Regions from separate parts of the Homo sapiens genome. Here all the other regions are linked to region 2. The links are contacts of gene promoters, found by promoter capture Hi-C in blood cells and fetal thymus (Javierre and others, 2016). All regions are on one chromosome and are shown on one strand. The core of a region is centred on a gene start or on the middle of the fragment in contact, and the rest is flanking DNA. Distances in the headings are between cores, read along the strand shown. Region 1 overlaps DSCAML1 (DS cell adhesion molecule like 1). Region 2 holds the start of IL10RA (interleukin 10 receptor subunit alpha). Region 3 overlaps FXYD6-FXYD2 (FXYD6-FXYD2 readthrough).

What was found. The method cuts DNA at HindIII sites, captures the fragments that hold promoters and counts their contacts. A CHiCAGO score of 5 or more calls a contact.
Region 1: a fragment that was not itself captured here is called in contact with the fragment with the promoter of IL10RA in region 2 in 1 of 17 cell types (endothelial precursors); the score reaches 5.0 in endothelial precursors.
Region 3: a contact is called between a fragment that was not itself captured here and the fragment with the promoter of IL10RA in region 2, in 7 of 17 cell types (non-activated CD4 T cells, naive CD8 T cells, naive CD4 T cells and 4 more). The highest score is 8.5, in non-activated CD4 T cells.

The regions. Positions count from the first base shown.
Region 1 is chr11:117,788,342-117,792,381 of GRCh38, forward strand. All of the region lies in intron 1 of DSCAML1 (DS cell adhesion molecule like 1), which reads right to left. Among named protein-coding and RNA genes, the nearest start is that of DSCAML1, 6.9 kb to the right of the region's middle. The HindIII fragment of the contact is 8,640 bases long and covers 1-4,040 here.
Region 2 is chr11:117,983,997-117,988,066 of GRCh38, forward strand. It overlaps IL10RA (interleukin 10 receptor subunit alpha), which reads left to right and starts at 2,398. Exons shown (of 7, transcript NM_001558.4): 1 at 2,398-2,538. The coding sequence starts at 2,472. RefSeq lists enhancers at 1,826-1,885, 3,276-3,575 and silencers at 2,076-2,175, 2,196-2,475. The HindIII fragment of the contact is 8,039 bases long and covers 1,111-4,070 here.
Region 3 is chr11:117,848,844-117,853,584 of GRCh38, forward strand. All of the region lies in intron 1 of FXYD6-FXYD2 (FXYD6-FXYD2 readthrough), which reads right to left. All of the region lies in intron 1 of FXYD6 (FXYD domain containing ion transport regulator 6), which reads right to left. Among named protein-coding and RNA genes, the nearest start is that of FXYD6-AS1, 17 kb to the left of the region's middle. The HindIII fragment of the contact is 4,307 bases long and covers 319-4,625 here.

The DNA.
Region 1 (4,040 bases), core at 319-2,818, 200 kb before region 2:
TTTGAGACGGAGTCTGGCTCTGTCACCCAGGCTGGAGTGCAGTGGCACCATCTTGGCTCACTGCAACCTCCACCTCCCAGGTTTGAGCGATTCTCCTGCCTCAGTCTCCTGAGTAGCTGGGATTACAGGCGTGCACCACCACGCCTGGCTAATTTTTGTATTTTTAGTAGAGATGGGGTTTCGCCATGTTGGCCAAGCTGGTCTCGAACTCCTGACCTCAAGTGATCCGCCTGCCTCGGCCTCCCAAACTGCTGGGATTACAGGCATGAGCCACCATGCCCAGCCCCATCATTTCTTTGTAGCATTTGTTTTGTGCCAGGCATGGTGGGAAGCCTTTTTCTTGCATTATTGCACATGTAATTCTTACAACAGCCCTTGGATGTAGCTACTACTCAAGACTCCATTTTACAGATAAGAAGACAGGCTCTTAGGTCAAATAATTTCTTGGTGTTGCACAGTTCGCAGTGGCAGAGCTGCATTTCACATCTTTATGCCAGGATGTGTGGCTCAGCAGGCACATGACAGGCTAGATTCAGACCATCCCCATGGTGTGAGCACACTGTGGGGGGATTTTCTGACAAAAGAGATCAATTGGGGTATGATAATTCAGAATTACCTGGGAATCTCCCTGTCATTAGACATTCCATCCCTCCCCCAACTAAACGCCAGCAGCTCCCCACCCTAGTCATTGAGATGACCAAAAAACGCTCCCCATTTCCAATCCCCATGCAAAGCACAGCTCAAGTGTCCTCCCTGTGTCCATCAGAAACATGGGTGGTTTTGCTGTTTGTTTTTAAGATTCTTAGCACAAACATGGTTTCTGTGACCAGCAACCAGAAACCTGCGAGGTCCAGTGGAGACGCAGCTATCCTTCAACCTCCAAGGCCCTGTGCCATCAGCTCCAGGAGAAGTTATGAGCAACAGCTGACTGTCGGACAGACTCTTTAATCTTCCAGCCCTTTCTAGACAGGGCCTGTCAAAGGAAGGTCCCTTATGGCCAAAATTTCTTTCCAGGGAGTCAGCTCAGACAGCACAGTTGTCCCCAGAGAATCCTAGATTTAGATTGTTAATGCTTGAGGGACTTAAGAGATTATTTTTTCCAATCTCCTCCATTCACAAGGCCTAGAGAGGTGGAGTCATCTACCCCAGGGACACAGCTCACCAGCATCCCAGCTGGGGCTACAGTGCTGTCTCCAGTGTTCTCTCAGTTCTGGCCACCCTGCTGTCAGAAAACTAGCCATTGTGGAACTCAGGAGCACCATGAAGCACCGAAACGATGTCATTCGAGGGTGTATCAGAGCAACTAGGGATGCTGCGTGTCCAGAGCAGGGGCCTCAGATGGGCAGGACATCTGCCTATCACAGTCGCAGGGCTGTCAAGTGGAAGAGGGCTTTGCCTTGCTCTATGTGGTCCAAGCGGTGACATCAGGACCAGTGAGTAGAAGGTCCAAGACCACAACAGGGTTTGACTCATTCTAAGGATGAGCTCTGTAATAGTCAGAGCTGTGTGGCCAGGAATGGGCTGCCTTGCAAGGAAGGAGTCCCTGTTGCAGGAAGTGCTAGTGAAGACAGAAAAAGACACTGGGTGGGAAAGCTGCAGAGGGAGTCAGCCTCTGATTAGGGGACAGATTCCACAGCCTTAAAGATGCCTTCCAACCCTGCAAGACTTTTACCCAAGGTGATCACCTGAATCTCCCTCTCCCACCCCCAACGCAGGGGTCCTATCCTCTCTCATACCCCACGACTGCGGGAGGGTCACCCTAGTAGCAGGGTGTCCACCAGTCTCGACTCGGCAGAGTTTTCAGAGATTCCAGTGAATACTGTGACCTTAAATGAGGTCACATAAGATGGGACTGTGCCTACTGCTCTTCCCACAAAAGACTGTGGATTCCCTGCAGGGAGAATGTCCCTTTGGGGGAGTTGGTCCAGAGGACTATGGACTACACTTGCATCTAAGAACCTTGGAGGGGAATGGGAGGAGGGAGAAGAGGTAGGCTTCCTCCCACTCCCACTACCACTGGGGCCTCAAGGGATCTGCCAAGTTTGCTCCAGGAAGACTATTGCCAGCCTGGCTGTGCCTCATCAGCTGTTCCCCATGATGCTGAAAAGCAAAGCTAGGAAAATTCTCCATATGTTGGGGCCCACGGAGGGGGAGACAGCCACAAACAGCTGTGAGACCTTCATCGTTCCTGTATGATGAAATGACAGTAATTATGCCTCACATTTCAGCAGAGCATTTATAAGGCTAAAACGGGTTTGCTGTGGTTTTTACATGTGTGTGTTCATATGTTGCCTCATTCTGTATACAAAGCACTGTCACATGATGTACATTTTTATGCCTCTTATTCTTATTTATGCACATATACAGTAACAACTGCTCTGTAGGATAGCCAGGACGGGGGTAATTTTGCCCATTTTACAGATTACGAAATAAAGGCACATGAACCATTAGGCAACTTGCCCAGGTAAGACAGGCTGAGCTTTGTTTTTTAGGTCCATGGATAATGTTCTTTCCAACACACAGACACACATACACACATGCACGTGCAAACACACATGCATCTCTTTAGAATCAGTTTAATGGATATGCAACTAACTAGCATTTGAATAATTGTTGTTAATGAAGATGGTGACCTTGGAAACTGTTAGTGCAAGCATCATGTAGAGACAGGGCACAGGGAGTGGGGCAGGGCAGCTGAACGAATGAGGGGAGTAGCAGCTGGAGTGGCATGGGTGGTCCCCAAGGCTAATGCTGTTCACTCTAAAGCAGCACAGGACAAACATCTGTTTAACAAGGCACACAGGCTGTGGAGCCCACAGCCTCCCCAACATGTAGGATCCCACAGGCCATGGCCTGCCATAGGCAGCACTTGACCTCTGGGTTACATGCTGCTTCCCTGTGACAGACTAGGTCATGGAAGGAAGAGCAGTCCCAAGGTCACAGGCTGCCAAGAGTGTTCTCTATATGCAAAACTGCCTGAAAAATAGAGGTTCATCTCAGCAGGGAGAGACACAGAAATACATCCAGCAACAGTTATGAGGGCTCCCTCGCTTTGTGAGGAGTGCTTACGCAGGCTTTATGGCATGAACTCCAGAATAGTTCTTACTCTGGCCAACCGTGGTAGAGATTTAACAACCAACCCCAGCCTTCCTTTGGCAGATATGAGACCAACCTTTGCCTCACCTCAAATCCAAGTCTGGAGCCAACTTCAGCCCTCTTCATTTCCACTGATGGCCAGGGGAAGGAAGTGTGCTGGGCACCCCAGGGACACTCAGGTGACCACATGGCCTCAGCCATGTGGAGTCCTACATGCTATCCAGCTAGGTGACGGATGGAAGGAGTTGACGTCCCCTGTCCTGGCCACTACTCTGTCTTTCTTATTGTTATAAAGTCTAAGCCAACTGGCTTGGCCAAAAATGTGGCTGATTAATTCAACTGCTTAGGGAAGGATCTGATGATGCATTCTGGAGAGGGGGCAGGGAGAGGAAGGTAGAGGCAATGCAGAGGAAAAAGTAGAGGTCTAATGTTTATTGAGCACTAACTATGTTCTGGCTACTTGATATGCATTATCTTCTTTAATCTCATTTCATAGCTGGAGAAAGTGGGGCTCAGAGAGGCCCAAAGTCACATGGCCAGTAAGTGCAGAGCCAGGATGTGAATGAAAGATTTGCCTTGACTCCAAATTTCTACCACACCAGTGGGTTGCAACCTTTCTTATTTTTCATTCTACTCCAATATATGAAATTGGATAATGAATAAAAGCTCTGGTTGAAGCTCTGCCCTCTGGCCCTCCCCCTCTCTACCTCTGTCCATCCCCTGAGGCTCCACCTCACCCCTTAGGCCTCCATACCACATCTCTTGGAAACCTCTGTGGGCTCTGGTGGGCCAGGCCCCTTCTGGATCAGTGGATATGCAGAAAAATAATCTGGGAAGGCTTTGGAGCTGCACCTGCCATAGTAGTATCCTCTCAGGGCCCTGGAAATGCAGACAAAACCATTCCCGAGGCCACACTCCCACTGCAGCATCCCAGCTGGCTCGCT
Region 2 (4,070 bases), core at 1,148-3,647:
GGCCAGAAATGTCCTGAGCCCCTCTTCTTTGGTTTGTCTGAGAACAAGGGCAGGGCTTGAGGGATGCACACACAGTCCCAAACACACATATGCACTTGGCAAACAGACAACGTTCTCCACACCACAATGAAATCCAAATCCACAGACTGGCCACTGCAAATCATATATGACTGCAAGTGCACACACACACACACACACACACACACACACACACACACACTTTGAAGCAGGTGTCAGCCTCCAAGAAAAAGTGATGGACAGTCTGTCTCTCATATCCTCACATATTTGGTTCACCTGGAGATGGCCTCAGATGAGCCAAGTGACACAGAGGTGCGAGAGACTGAGGATGTGCTGAGGTGTTACCCAGCACTCCAGTAGTGCTATTACCCAACACAAAAATTGGTCTGAATATCAGATTTCAAGCAAGCAAGGGAAACCCAGAAGAGACTGGGAGAAGTCCTTATGGAGGCTAAAGCAACTCCATGTTGGATGCTAATCCACAGTTTTGGCCGTGTTGGCTTTGGAGCCTCCCAGAAGACCTCTGAGATTCCCAATTTATCAATTGCTCCTTGTGTAAGTGCAAACACTTACTGTAAATCCGGCCCTTAGGTCAAACAACCTTGATGTTATCATACTTCAACTGTCCTACACATCTTTTCTGAATCACCCTTCCCCTGTGGTCTATAAGCCCTGGTCCTGGGGGTGAATCATGGAGACACAAACGTAGCTTCTGTTTATAAGTCCTTATTAAATGTTTTTTTCGAAGAAACTGGATGTGTCAGCCTGTAACCTGCAAAAGGATCTGGCTGCTCTCTGCTTGTAGAAAGAATGGATAATAAAGGAAAATCTGCTAGCTGCCATGCTAGCAGGGGAAGAGCAGCAAACAATTCCACTCTTCAATTCATGGGGGGAACGCAGGGGTTTTTTAAGAAAGGATCTGAAATGCAGAAAAGGCAAGGGGGAGGTTAGGAGGTACCAGGTGGTGTGACTTGCTCCAGTGGTCCTCTTTAATTATCGTCTTATTTGGTGGAGGGGCTGGTGCAATCGTGGATCCTGCCAGGTTATAAATTAGTTACTCTTCAGCAGGGTATATGTTCAACTCCTGAAGTAAGCTTTTGTTGGAGAGAGAATTCCGGAGGTGCCTGGTCCCTATCAGGACGCAGCTCCTGAGGCATCTAAGGAAATATATGACCAGGTAAGAGCATAGCGTGTGCTTAACAAGCACGTAGGTAAATAAACGTGCGTAAGGCATGGGAGTACAGTATGGGACAGGAAAGGGAGTGGAGGTCACAGCACGTCCTGAGGCTGTGTTTTAAGATGAGAGGTAACATACATGCAGTTTGTCTCAAAATTATATCTTGAGGCCCAGAGGAGGAAGAGAAAAAAGGAAAGAAGAGAAACTAAGTTTAAAACACGGTTTAAGGCTGGGCGCGGTGGCTCACCCCTGTAATCCCAGCACTTTGGGAGGCTGAGGCGGGTGGATCACCTGAGGTCAGGAGTTCGAGACCAGCCTGGCCAACATGGTGAAACCCCGTCTCTACTAAAAATACAAAAATTAGCCCAGGCGTGGTGGCACATGCCTGTAATGCCAGCTACTCGGAAGGCTGAGGCAGGAGAATCGCTTGAACCTGGGAGACGAAGGTTGCAGTGATCCGAGATCACGCCACTGCATTCCAGCTTGGGCGACAGAGCGAGACTGTAAAAAAAAAAAATAGATAAAAAAATTTTAAAAATCGCGGTTTGAGGCTCAGCTGCTGAGCTGCTGGTTAAAAGCCTCTTTCTTGGGTCTCTCAGCTTCCTGGGACTTTGGGGGCAGGTCTGCATAAACTGCTTAGTTGTGGACCCCCCTCCAACAATTAGGTAGGGGACTACTCAGTATTCATCCATCGGTGTCCTCAGACCCCCAGACGGGGAGGCCCTGGGGCAACGCCAAGACTCACACCGGCGTCCTGGCGCCTTTGCCCTCAAGGGCCTGCAACTACCTCCTCCCCATTCGGAGCGGCCGCGGCCACATCCTTAACGCCAAGCCGGCACGCCAGGCAAAAGCGGCTCGGACGCCCTCACCCCACCTTCCGCACTCAGGGCCGAGGCTGTGCCTGGCCACCTGCTTCCCAGCACATGCACACACGCGCGCGCGCACACACCCACACACACGTACCCACGGCCGGCCGGGCTACCCGGACCACTTTGATCCGAAGGCACTGGAGGCCCAGAGGGAAGGAAAGGGAGGGGTGGCCGGAGCCCGCTAGCGCCCCAGGACAGCCTCGGGTTGCCCCAGGCGGTAGCCCTGTGGGACAGTGGTTCCCCGTCCGCGGCCTCGGGGGCGGGGCGTCTGTAGGCCTCGCCCCGCTGACGTCAGCCCTGCGGGGCGCTGGCGGAGCGGGCGGCGGAGCTGTCAGTCCCAGCCCAAGGGTAGCTGGAGGCGCGCAGGCCGGCTCCGCTCCGGCCCCGGACGATGCGGCGCGCCCAGGATGCTGCCGTGCCTCGTAGTGCTGCTGGCGGCGCTCCTCAGCCTCCGTCTTGGCTCAGACGCTCATGGTAAGGCTCCGGGACGCGGCCCTTCCCTGCCCTGCCCTCTCCGCGCCCGCTCCATTAAAGTTCTCCATCCAGTGGAGAGCCCTGGCTGGCTGGCCCTCTGGCAGAGCGGTGCCCGGGTGCTCCCTTACTCTGGCAAACCTGGATCTCAGGCTCACCTGTTGTGGAAGTGGAAGAGGCTGAAATTGACAGGAACTGACGGATTGGGAAGGATAGAGAAGTATGCGCAAGGCCAAACCCCCAACCCGCAAACCTCATCATCCACCCACTTCTAGATGAGCCGTAAGTTTAGCTCTAGGTTTTTTGCTGTTTAGGTTCAAATGATGGGACTTCTTGTCCCCTTGGGGAATAATTTTGATCTCCTGACTCTCCCTTCTCTTAGTCGACTCTTCAACTAACCTCTGTCTGTCCTTCTCCCATCTCACCTTCATCCCTCACTGATCACCCCGATCTGATCCCCCTTGCTCCACCTGTAGCCCCCAACTCACTCCCACTGCCCCCTGCCTCTCTCCTCCTAACCCAGCCAGTTCAGGCTTCTAACCCAGTTCAGGCTCCTAACCCAGACAGTTCTCCGGCAAGGTTTCTGCAACTAAGAAAAGTAAACCCCAGAGACAGAATGAAAGAGCCGGGAGTTGGAAGGACCAAGAGCAGAGACAGAGAGCAAGGACCGAAACTGCTTCTTCATGACACCAAAATACAAAGTAAAACATGCAGTCAGCCATTCACGTGATCGAGAGCTGAGTCGGAGATGTGCAGCCCAAATACCACAACGACTCGCTGCATTTTTCACTTTCCGTCTAATGTTTCGAAATCAAGGCACTGACGTGAAGATCAAAGACGGTATAAGAAAGAAAGCAAGAGACAGATGACAGAGTCCTCCCCCCCAAAAAATAAATAAAAAACAGGTGCATGATTAGAGAGATGTAGAGAAGTTAGAACACTAGGGAGCGGGAGCAGAGTCGCTGTCAAATGGAGAGAACTTAGAGGATCAAGGAGGAGAGAAAGGGAACCAACCAGCCGTTGGCCTTGCACATACTTCAGTCTGCTTGATCAACAAGACTCTTAAAGTAGAAATGTTTGTTGCATTCTTACAAAGAAGACAATGCCTTCAGCAGTGTTTCCCATGGTGAATGGTGTGTACTGGGGGTAAAGGGAGAGTAGAGCTAGGAATTGGTATTGAGTATCTCTCCTCGGAGCTACAGGTGCCAGCTCTTGTGGGGATGTCCTCAGCCATGTGTAGAGCCAGAGCTGATTTATTCCATCTGTCCTTGCCCAGCCAGAGGTTGGACATCTGGCTATAGGCAAAGCCCTCCCAGAAACTAGGGAATGAGGCAAGCACTTAGCTTGGGGAGCCCAGGAGACCTATGAAGAGAAGGAGGCAGATGTCAGCAAGCAGGCTGTCTGTGTACTTAGTGAGGTGGCTTTGAGCTGGAGCCTGGGCCAAGCCAGGGTGGGGATCAGGTGTGTGGATGGGGCCAAGCCTAGGAATAGTGCTAGAGCAGGGACAGGGATTGGGCAGAGCCAGGGACTAACAC
Region 3 (4,741 bases), core at 1,222-3,721, 140 kb before region 2:
TGTGACAACTCCCTTTCTTCTTGGTCAGTTTCACCAGAGGTTTAACGATGCTTATAGTTTTTTTGAAGAAACCAACTCTTGGTTTCATTAATCCTTTTTATTGTATGTTTTAAAATTTTCTTAATTCTGCCCTTAAACAATCTCTGGGTTTCTTCTATTGTTCTTTTTTATGTTTATCTTGTTATGTTGGATACCTAGTTCATTAATATTTAGCTTTTCTTATTTTCCAATATAAGCATTTAAGACTGCAATGTTCCCTCTAAGTGCTTTTAAAGTATAATACTAAGAACTAAACAATAATCAATAACCACACTTCAAAGCTTCTGTAAGGGGGTGAAAGTACTCCATCATAGTTGGATTGTTGTTTAGTTCTCAGTATACTTTAAACCTCCTTACAATTTCTTGCTTTACCTATGCATTAAGAAGTGTGTGTTTTAAATATCCAAATATATAGTGATTTTTATTTGCTTTTGTTATTGACTTCTAACTTAAGTGCACCAAGGTCACAAAACATGGTCTGTATGATGTACAGATGCCTTGAAACGTGTTGAGACTTGCTTTATGACCTAGTACATGGTCAGTTATTAAAAGAATTATATTTCATATGTGCTTGGAAAATTGTGAATTCCTTCATGGTTGGGAAGAAAGTTCTATATGCCTATAAATTAACATTATCAACTGTGTTTAAATTTCTTTTTTTTTTTTTGACTGTTTATCCTACCAAAAATCAAGATCAGCACTTTAAAATCTACCACTAAGTGGAAGGATTTATAAATGTATCCCCATATTTGAAACAGAGGGGTTAATCTGATCAGGTCTGCCTGCACTGCTTGCTTTTGGTCGCTTGCTTTTTGTTATTATATTTTATTTTTTTTCCTTTTTCCATGAAGCTGAAGGCCGTGGTAGCTGAAGGCCTCGGTAGCTGAAGGCCTCGCCACTGCATGCTGAAACTTAACCTTCACTGGTTACTTTACAGATAACATTCATAGGTCACCCTGGTAATGGTTACTTCAGTTGTTTTTCAGGAATTTGGGCTAGCTCCTGTCCAGTTCAAACAGGATGAGACCACCCACCCTTCAACTGGGCATGTGCAAGTGCTCCGAAGGGTAGCCTTTGACATCAGAGGGCTAAAAACTCCACCCTCAGGTCACACTAATGCCACCATTTCCTGTACATATGTCCTGTGGAATGCCACAAACCCTGACTACGCTTGCTCAGAATGAATCTGCCATTTCATTTCTCCCCACTGCCAATCACCTTTCCCTATGCCTCAGACCACCCCACTTCCCTTAACAGTAAATATCCCTAAGCCTTATCTTTGGGGAGGCGGATTTGAGAGCCGTTCTCCGGCCTCCTTGCTTGGTGGTCTTCTGAATAAATCTTTTCTCTTTTGCAAAATCTGTGTCACAGTGATTGATTTACTGAGATTTACTGAGTGTGGGCAGAACAGACCTGAAGCTGGCCGATAACATGTCTCTTAGAATATTCTAACAGATAGTTTAAAACTGTTACTGTCCTCTGAGTTGGGTCTTTTAGAATTATGTAGTGATCCTCCCTGTCTTAAATTCTATGTTACTCTCTACCTTTCTGTGTCCTTATGTGTTGTGTGTGCATCTTATAAACAGCAAAGAGATGGATTTTTGAAAAATTCTGTATTGTCAGGCTTTCTGTATTAATTGTCAAATTTACCCCATTTAATTTACTTATTGTGACTATTGATGTAGTTGGTCTGCTTTCTGCCATCTGTTTTTTCCCTATGGGAATGTGCTTGTTTCTTTTTCTTTCCTTGCCCTTTCTTTTTTCTGGATTAGTTATTTTTATTTTTATTTTTTTGGGGGGCGGTCTCACTATGTTACGTAGGCTGGTCTCGAACTCCTGGGCTCAGGTGATCTGCCTGCCTTGGCCTCCCAAAGTGCTGGGATTATAGGCATGAGCCACTGCCCCTAGCTTAGTGATTTTTTTTTTTCTTATTCCTTTTCTCCCTCTACTGGTTTAGAAATTATAGAAACTATTTTAATCTTTTAGTGGTCATCTTTGTAATTTTTCCATGTGTATTCAATGTAAAAAAGACCAAAAAAATTCAGAGTTAATACTTATAATAGTTATTAGGCAGAATACCCTCCTTGAAAATACAAAAATACAAATCATCCCCTTCCTGATACATATGCTATTATTGGAGAATATTTCAGTTCTTTTTAAAATTCTATAAAATAGATACTAATATTCGTACTTCATGAAAACTATGTTTGTTTGGATTCACCCATGTGTGTAGTAGCCAGCCTGCAAGACAGCTCCCAGTATCTCCTAGTATTCAGATCCTTGTACAGTCCCCTCCCACACTGCACCAGGGTTGGTCTGTATGACCAGGAAAATATGGCAGAAGTAATGGTATGTCACTTTCGATATGAGGTTATAAAAAGCAACACAGCCTCTTGTGTGCTCTCTCTCTCTCTCCCTCCCTCTCGGATTGCTTGTTCTGAGTCAAGCTAGCTGCCATGTCTTAAGGATATTCAGGCACCCCTGTGGAGAGGCCCATGTGGTGGCCTCACTCCAAAAGCCTGCTAAGAAATACAGCCTGCCATGAACCACATAAGTGAGCTTGGAAACAGATCTTCCGGCTTCATGAAAGACCTTGAGCCAGAACCACCCACTGAAGATTCTCCCTGATTCCATACCCTCAGAAACTGTGTGAAATATCAAACGTTTGCTGTTTTAGGCTGCTGAGTTTGGAAGTAATTTGCTATGCAGCAATAGATAATGAATTTACAACATATGTACTGATTTGTTCACCATTGTTTTTGAACGTTAGTCATCCTTCATGCCATTTTCTTTATTCCTAAAGAACATCTTTCAAAATTTTCTTTAATGAAGATCTGTTCGTTAGAAACTCTGTTTCTGTTTATTTGGAAATGTTTTCATTTCACCTTTATGGCAAGAGACCCTACGGCGATCCCCAGTCATTCCAGCCTTCTAGTGTTCAATGCTTTGAGTAATCTCTTTCCTTTGAATACTGGCAGGAGCTGCAACACACTTTTAACCAACAGAATGTGGCAAAAGTGGCAAAAGGACAGCTCTCAGATGATGGTGTTATATCATATAAGACTCAATCTTGCAGGCTGGAGCTCGAGAATTTTCTCCCTTGCTGGCTTGAAAAAGCAAGCTGCTATGTCATGAGACAGGCTACGGAGAGAAGCACAGGATAAGGAATTGTGGGAAGCCTCTAGCAGCTGACAGCTGCCCCTGGCCAGAAGCCAGCAAGAAGATGGGAACCTCAGTTCTTCTACCACAAGGAGATGAATACTGCCAGCAACCTGAGGGAGTCTGGAGGCAGATCTTTCCCCAGTCAATTCTCTTATCAGACCACAACCTTAGCCAGCACCTAGACTGTAGTTCGGTATGATGCTGAAGCAGAAAATTCAGCTAAGCTGTGCCAGACCTCTGACCTAAAGAAACCATTACATAATAAACATGTGTTGCTTTAAGCTGCTGGGTCTGTGATCGTTTGTTATGCAGCAATAGAAAACTAATACAATCCTAACCTTGAAAGGTAGTTTGGCTATGTACACAATTCTAGGCTGATAATTATTTTTGCTCTGCACTTTTAAGATGTTATTCCACTGCTATCTGGCTTCCATGATTGCTGTTGAGAAGTCTGCTGCTTATATCATCATTCCTTTATAGATGTCCTATCTTTCTTCTCTGCCTCCTTTTATTTTCTTCTTTTTGTGTTTGCTGTTGTGGGTTTCATCACAAGTCTGAAACACAACATAGAACTGATTGTCGTGAGTTTCATCAGACTTGAAAGTCCTTTACCTATAGGTTCATCCTTTTCATCGTTATGAAAAATTCTTATCTCTTCAAATATGGCCTCTCCTCCATTCTCCCCACTTTCTCTTTCTGAGACTGTGACTAGAAGCAGGTTAGACATCCTCATTCTATTCTCCATATCGCTTAACTGCTCTTTCATATTTTCCACTTCCTTCTCTATGCTACATTCCAGGTAATTATTTCATATTTGTTTTCCATTTTCTGACTTCCTTTTTAACTGTTTTTATTTGCTGCTTAACCCACTCATTTACTTTTGTGTTTCAATGGTCATATTATTAATTTCTAAAGGTTCTATCTGGTTCTTTTTGAAATTGCCTGGGCATTTGTGTTAGTCTTTGTTGTTCACTCATTTTGTGTTCTCATCTCTTATTCTTTCAACATTTCTTACAGTTATTTTATATTCTGTATCTGATAATTCCAAACTCTTAAATCCTTGGGGGTCAAAATCTACTTTTTGTTTCTGTGCCTTTCAATCACAGTGACTTGTTTTTTCCTGTGTTTGGTAATATATTCGATTGTGAGCTCATATTTGCTAGATTTTAATCTGTGGGAAATTGGTAGTCCTAAAATGGGACACTTTCTTTCAGAGAGCATTTGCTTTGCTTTTTCATGGAGGCTGGGGGCAGCAGATACCAACCTGAGATCACTTTAGCCCCTCTCAAGGGTTCTTGGCTTCATGCAGGTAGTCTCAGGTTTGGCTTCCCAACCTTGCTGGACTCAATGCTGATTAGCCTACAGAATGCAGTAATGTCAATGAGGGTGCATTCTAAGAGTAACTATGGCTTAAGTTCTGGCTAAGCTTCACATACTCCAGTGCTAGTTTTTGTTTTGTTTTGTTTTGTTTGAGATAGAGTCTCACTGTGTCACTCAGGCTGGAGTATAGTGGCACAATCTCGGCTCATTGCAACCTCTG